2 separate regions of the Homo sapiens genome follow, and region 2 is linked to region 1. The links are contacts of gene promoters, found by promoter capture Hi-C in human tissues and cell types (Jung and others, 2019). All regions are on one chromosome and are shown on one strand. Each heading gives the region's core, a stretch centred on a gene start or on the middle of the fragment in contact. The rest is flanking DNA. Distances are from core to core; before and after follow the strand shown.

What was found. The method cuts DNA at HindIII sites, captures the fragments that hold promoters and counts their contacts. A contact is called where the count stands out against the background at its distance.
Region 2: the fragment with the promoter of DEFB103A here is called in contact with the fragment with the promoter of DEFB4B in region 1 in 6 of the 25 tissues and cell types used here (H1 embryonic stem cells, dorsolateral prefrontal cortex, hippocampus and 3 more).

The regions. Positions count from the first base shown.
Region 1 is chr8:7,415,133-7,418,255 of GRCh38, forward strand. DEFB4B (defensin beta 4B) reads right to left here and starts at 1,731. Exons shown (of 2, transcript NM_001205266.2): 1 at 1,638-1,731. The coding sequence starts at 1,695. The HindIII fragment of the contact is 11,162 bases long and covers 1-3,123 here.
Region 2 is chr8:7,879,797-7,882,919 of GRCh38, forward strand. It overlaps DEFB103A (defensin beta 103A), which reads left to right and starts at 1,596. Exons shown (of 2, transcript NM_001081551.4): 1 at 1,596-1,683; 2 at 2,627-2,867. The coding sequence starts at 1,626. The coding sequence ends at 2,772. It also overlaps the pseudogene LOC124901865. The HindIII fragment of the contact is 16,891 bases long and covers 1-3,123 here.

The DNA.
Region 1 (3,123 bases), core at 481-2,980:
CGTGTAAGAACTCAAAACTCATGTTGGAAAAACACAAACCCTGTGTCAGTATCGCCTTGAGTAAATCCGCAGCGGGCTTCTTTCTCAAGCCTGGGCTTTTCCATCATGATAATGAGACGCGAGTCAGTCATTTGGATCTAAGTTTCTGACATGGAAACTGGCACTGCTGTGGTTTGGGGGATGTTTATTTTTGTAGAACCTGATTGTGAAAGACCCTGATCTCTCCTGAGTGACTGGGGCCTCCAGGTGGGGTCTGGTAGGAGCTCAGCAACGATCTCTTGTGAATTCAGCTCCACCACAAGAAGATAATATCAAAGCCACCATACCTCCATTTTAACACACACAAGCCAGTAAACTTTTGCTTTTTCAAATCATTTAGTCTGTTAAGTATTTGATCTGAGATGGGATAAAAAGATGCAACTTACTGAAATTGTTTAATAGGAAATTAACACCAAGTAACTTACAGTTGAAAACCACAATTAACCATAGAAATAAATTTTGTAATGGCTTGTTTCTAATATCTAAGTCCTGGTTTCAACCTCATTCTTCTTTTTTTATCCCTCCCTCCCTCCCTCCCTCCCTCCCTCCCTCCTTCCCTCCCTCCCTCCCCACCTGCCCGCCTCCCTGCCTCCCTGCCTCCCTGCCTCCCCGCCTTCCTTCATTATACTGTTCTAGGTTTTGGAAAACATGAGGTCTCTGGTGCCTCTCAGAACCCCATTGTTCTCACAAAACCCAGGACTCATAAATAAGATTGGTAAAATGAGGATTTCACAAGATGATATCTATTAGATTAATTGTTTTAGGATTTACTCTCAAATTTTCTTTTTCCCTTTCTCCATCCTTCCCTTCCACTCTCCCTCTTTTATCCTTTCATGGTTTTTATTTTATTTTCATAATATCAAGGAGAAAATGAAGGTTAGGCATCCAGGTTTAAAAGTTGGTTTCAATGGGCTGTCCCTGTCCTGTGAACCTGCAGTGGCCTAGTGGCAGGGACTGTTCTCAGGGCCTCTGATCAGAAAAGTCCTGGGGGCAGAGTGTCTGCTGCAGTAGTTCTCACAGTATAGGCTGGGCCTTAAGATTATCTGGAATTCTCTAGGTTGCAGTATCTACCCTTTAAATATAAAAATTTAGAAAATGACATTCTATACTACTTTCTTTAGATAAAATCAAAATTTCTGCCTTTTATTTAAAAAGTCACCTAACAGGTTTCAACCATAGTCTCAGCAGTTGTAGCATGGAAAGCAGTGAAGAGATGATATTTACAAGCTACTGGGCTCCTTCATATTGGCTTAGAAGAACGAGTGAGGTGTCCATTGGGTTCTCAAACTCCTTTTCTATTGAAGGAAGCAATGCTTGGTTCAATTAAATAGGGCATTCAGTCTAAAAGTGTGGGTAGAAGAAAGGAAAGAGAAAGAAAGAAAGACATGCTCTAGGGAGAGAGGAAAAAGAAAGACAGAAAAAAAGAGAGAGAGGGAAGAAGAGAGAGAAGCAGGAGAAAAGGATGGAGGGGACACACAGAGAGAGGAAGGAGAGAGAGGGATGAGGGAGAGATAGGTGGAGGGGAATGAGAGGAGACAGAGAACTTCTACGCCATTCTTCCATTTGGCCAACCCTCCTATTTCCCTGGCCCATCTCACCTGGAAGAGGCATCAGAAATATGAAGAGGAACGAGAAGAGGAGATACAAGACCCTCATGGCTGATGGCTGGGAGCTTCACCAGGAGCTGAGTCTGGGGAGGACATCAAGCCTTCCACCTTATAAAGGTCCTGGTCCCTGGTCACCAGGTAGAGTTCAGAACTGGTATTGGGTGCAATGCTCATTACAGAGGTTAGAATTCAGCCACTTACCTGGTGAGTCAGAGAATGGTCCTCAAAGAACAATGCACACTCAGGAGATCTTATGCAAATCTGGACTCAGGAAACCCCAGAAAATCCCTTCCTCCTGCTCTTGGGACCAGAAAATTCCTCCTATCTTGCACCATTTAAAACCCAGTGTGTGAATGGAGTGAGGGGCTGGGTCTGTCTCACGTGAGAACAAACTCAAACTCAGGACCTATAACCTGCCACTCACCTGCTGCCCACTCTGTGCGACGTCCTGTTTTTCCTGAGTATCTGGGGACAGTCTCAGGCCAAATTGAGAGCTCTTTCCATCTAATTCTATCCATTGCTCGGACATTCAGCTCCTGGGGATGATACAGGGCTGGCTCAAACCCAGGGACCCTGGGAGGGGCTCAGGGCCTCTGGCAGCACCGGGAGCATGGTGGGCCCCATCCTCACAGGAGATCTGAGCTGGTGAAATTTATGTGAAAGTTCCCCTGAAACTCCCCATCTTCCCCACGGGAGAGAGATGAGGCAGATGGATGCCCACTTCCTTCCTCTGAGAAGGAGAATGGGAGGATGGGATTGTGACTACATGTGTCCCCTCAGAGTTCACCCAGGCCTGGGCCAGGAGGTGGCCTACCACCCGCACTTGAGTTCCTTCCATTCACACCGTCACTCAGGGAATGTCAGCTCCACAGGACTTCAGGGCTTTGGGAGCCAGGGCTTTCTCTGCTTTCCACAGACGTCAGCGTCACTGCCCTTGGGATTTGGTGGAGAAGCACCGAGTGGGGCTGCAAGGCCTCCACGTGGTCTCCCTGTTGGTGATGGGAAACACTTATGAAGGAGCCCCATGTTTTCAGGGCTGTGTGAGGTCTCTGGTGTCTCTCAGGACCCTGTCCTTCCTCCGTAACCCAGAGTAGCAATTGGCGGCCCCAGGCAATGGACAGAGCCCCATCCCGGGCACTCAGGAGAGGGCCTTTCTTGGGAAAATGAGTGGCATTCATCCTGGTTCCTCCCTCTTTCGATCTAAGGGCAGTTTGAGAAACAAGCAGGCCCCAGTGTCCATGTCTGTGATGTCTCAGGGGTGCAGCAGTGACAGAGACATGGGGACAATGAGGCTTTCCTCATGACCTGCCTGACCTCTTCATTTAAAATGTCAGGTTCTGAAGAACCCTGATTCCTGGCAGGCCAGAGGTGGATTTAAAGGAAGCTGGTAATGATATTGTGCAGCCAAGATCCTTAATGACATTTTTATAAAAGGAAATTTCTGAGCCTAGCATGGTGGCTTACACCTGTCATCCCA
Region 2 (3,123 bases), core at 346-2,845, 460 kb after region 1:
ATGACTCCCATTAGAATTCATCCTAAATTTATCATTTGACTGTCTGCCCATCTACCTGGCCCTACATGGAGCTTCTGGAGAGAAAGAACCAAGACTGGTCCCTCTTGGTATCTCATCCACTTCACCCTCACCTATGCTGAAGACATGATACTTGTCCCTTCCTATAGTATGTGTTCAGAGTTTTCTTACTGAATCTGACAGGTGTGGTGCACCCAAATTCTGAACACACACTCCCAGAACTAACACACCCTTGATCCTTAGTGGATCCGTTATAATTGCATTCACACGAAGCAGCAGCTAGGAGACATCACGGTGACTTCAGCTCCCAATTGAATTGTCATTGACTTACTTAGTTCCCAATTGATAGTCAACCAAATACAACCCATCCATTGGATTCCTGAACATTTAAGTTTAATAGCTGTTTTTTTTTTCTTTTTTAGCATTTTTCCCTCTAAACGTTGAATCTATATGCAGGGGAAATCATCTGGCCCCTGGACTGCCTTGAATGCTCCTGAGCCAAGAGTAACTTGAGGTCTTAAATGTCTATTCTGAAGCCCCTCTTTTGCACAGGGACAGTCATTGACTAGGAGGAGATGCCAGTCTATTAAATCTATCATCCCAGCATCCTCTTTCTCTGATGAAGTAAAATTAAACACCTTCTTTACTCATAAATTTGGTAGGTTTTAGACAATGATGAAGAATCGGACATGGGCCGCACACAGTGGCTCATACCAGTAATCCCAGCAATTTAGGAGGCTGAAGCAGGAGGATTGCTTGAGCCCAGGAGTTCACATCTGGGCTCGAAACCAGTCTGGGCAGCATAGTGAGACCCCATTTTATTTTCTACAGAAAATTTAAAATTTAGCCATGTGTGGAGGCATGCGTTTGTGGTCCCAGCTACTCAGGGGGCTGAAGTGGGAGGACCTCTTGAGCCTGACAGCTCAAGCTGTTGTGAGCTGTAATCATGCCACTGCACTCCAGCCTGCACAAAAAAGTGAGACTCTGTCTCTCAAAAAAAAAAAAAAAAAATGAAAGAATGAGACATGTTTCACTCAAATTATAGCACCCCATCATAGGCCAAGGGCCAGGTGGTCAGCTAACCTTGAATGTAGCCCATTTTCCTCCCTTACCTCACTACCAAAAAGCCAGTCCTATTGCCAGATATTGAATATGTCCAGGGCTGGATTTATTTGGTCCCCAGGAGGGTCTTAGACTCTCCCAGCATTTTAGGAAGAGAAAAAAAGCTCCAAAGCAGCAAAGTACGGACAAGTCAGCCCCCAGCCACATGCCCTGAGACTATTCCCCAAAGGGGGCATACTTGCTCATGCCAGCCCTATCTGTACCCACAACCCAATCTGACCCACACCCAGACAAGCCCCTGGAGTCCAGAGAGCACCCGGACAGCCACAAATCCATAGGGAGCTCTGCCTTACCATTGGGTTCCTAATTAACTGAGTGAGTGGGTGTGTTCTGCATGGTGAGAGGCATTGGAATGATGCATCAGAAAACATGTCATAATGTCATCACTGTAATATGACAAGAATTGCAGCTGTGGCTGGAACCTTTATAAAGTGACCAAGCACACCTTTTCATCCAGTCTCAGCGTGGGGTGAAGCCTAGCAGCTATGAGGATCCATTATCTTCTGTTTGCTTTGCTCTTCCTGTTTTTGGTGCCTGTTCCAGGTAAGATGGGCTGGGAAATCTAAGGATTGATCTAATTGAGAATATATAATTCAGAGTCAGTATTTCTCCATCCTTCAGAGTGCTTTGGACCAAGCAGGTTTGTTGTATGGGAACTAGGCATCACCACTTTTTTTTCAGACAAGAATCATTAAGAGGCCAGGTGCGGTGGCTCATGCCTGTAATCTCAACACTTTGGGAGGCCGAGGTGGGCGGATCACGAGGTCAGGAGTTCAAGACCAGCCTGGCCAAGATGGTGAAACCCCATCTCTACTAAAAATACAAAAATTATCTGGGCACAGTGGCGGGCACCTGTAATCCCAGCTACTCGGGAGGCTGAGGCAGAGAATTGCTTAAACCTGGCAGGCGGAGGTTGCAGTAAGCCGAGATCACGCCACTGTCCTCCAGACTGGGTGACAGGGTGAGAGTACACCTCAAAAAAAAAAAAAAAGAAAAGAATCATTAAGAAACTAAATAGCTCCCCAAAGCTATCTCTTTCCCCAACTCTTCAAGGGAAGATTATTATACCAGCTGATGAGACATGAATCAGACATAAAAGTTTAATGTAGCAGGAAAGATTGATTTACTCTGAGAATAGAAGCACAGGCTCCTGTTCTACTAAGTGCAATGGTTGGAGGTGGAGTGTTGGGGCTACCTCTGAGGACACCACAGCCTCAGCACCCCCACTGTTCCTGCGGCAGTCACAGGGTCACGCCACTTCCCCGGTGCCACTGTGGGTCCACAGCTGAGCTGCAGCCTTAGAAACATTGTCTATGGGTTGTGTAGTCATACCTTCATCTTCCTCCTGATTTTATAGAAAAAGGAAAAAGAAACAAAAGAATACAAGAAAAGCAAGGGATGAGTTATTTGAGGAATTCCACAAGCCTTGTACGTGTACCAAAAGCCTTCCTAAAACCTTTCCGTGTGTGCTGTTTTGTCATTGCAGGTCATGGAGGAATCATAAACACATTACAGAAATATTATTGCAGAGTCAGAGGCGGCCGGTGTGCTGTGCTCAGCTGCCTTCCAAAGGAGGAACAGATCGGCAAGTGCTCGACGCGTGGCCGAAAATGCTGCCGAAGAAAGAAATAAAAACCCTGAAACATGACGAGAGTGTTGTAAAGTGTGGAAATGCCTTCTTAAAGTTTATAAAAGTAAAATCAAATTACATTTTTTTTTCAAAAAAAATTAGGAGCTTGATTTTTTTTTTTAAATCTGATTATTTTGGTACTTGTTTCCAAACAGACAACTCAGAAAATCTTAAGGACTCACCTTTCGTTCAAAGAAAGTAGAATCTCTGGAGAAATCTATAAGGGAGCCCAACCTTATTATCCAAGGGTTATCAGGTTCTATTCCTACTTTGTGAACGTTATGCCCCAGTGAAGTTGGACTCTTCACTCTCTTGGAATATGCCCTTTGCTTTCATGTCATCCAAGCCTTGGG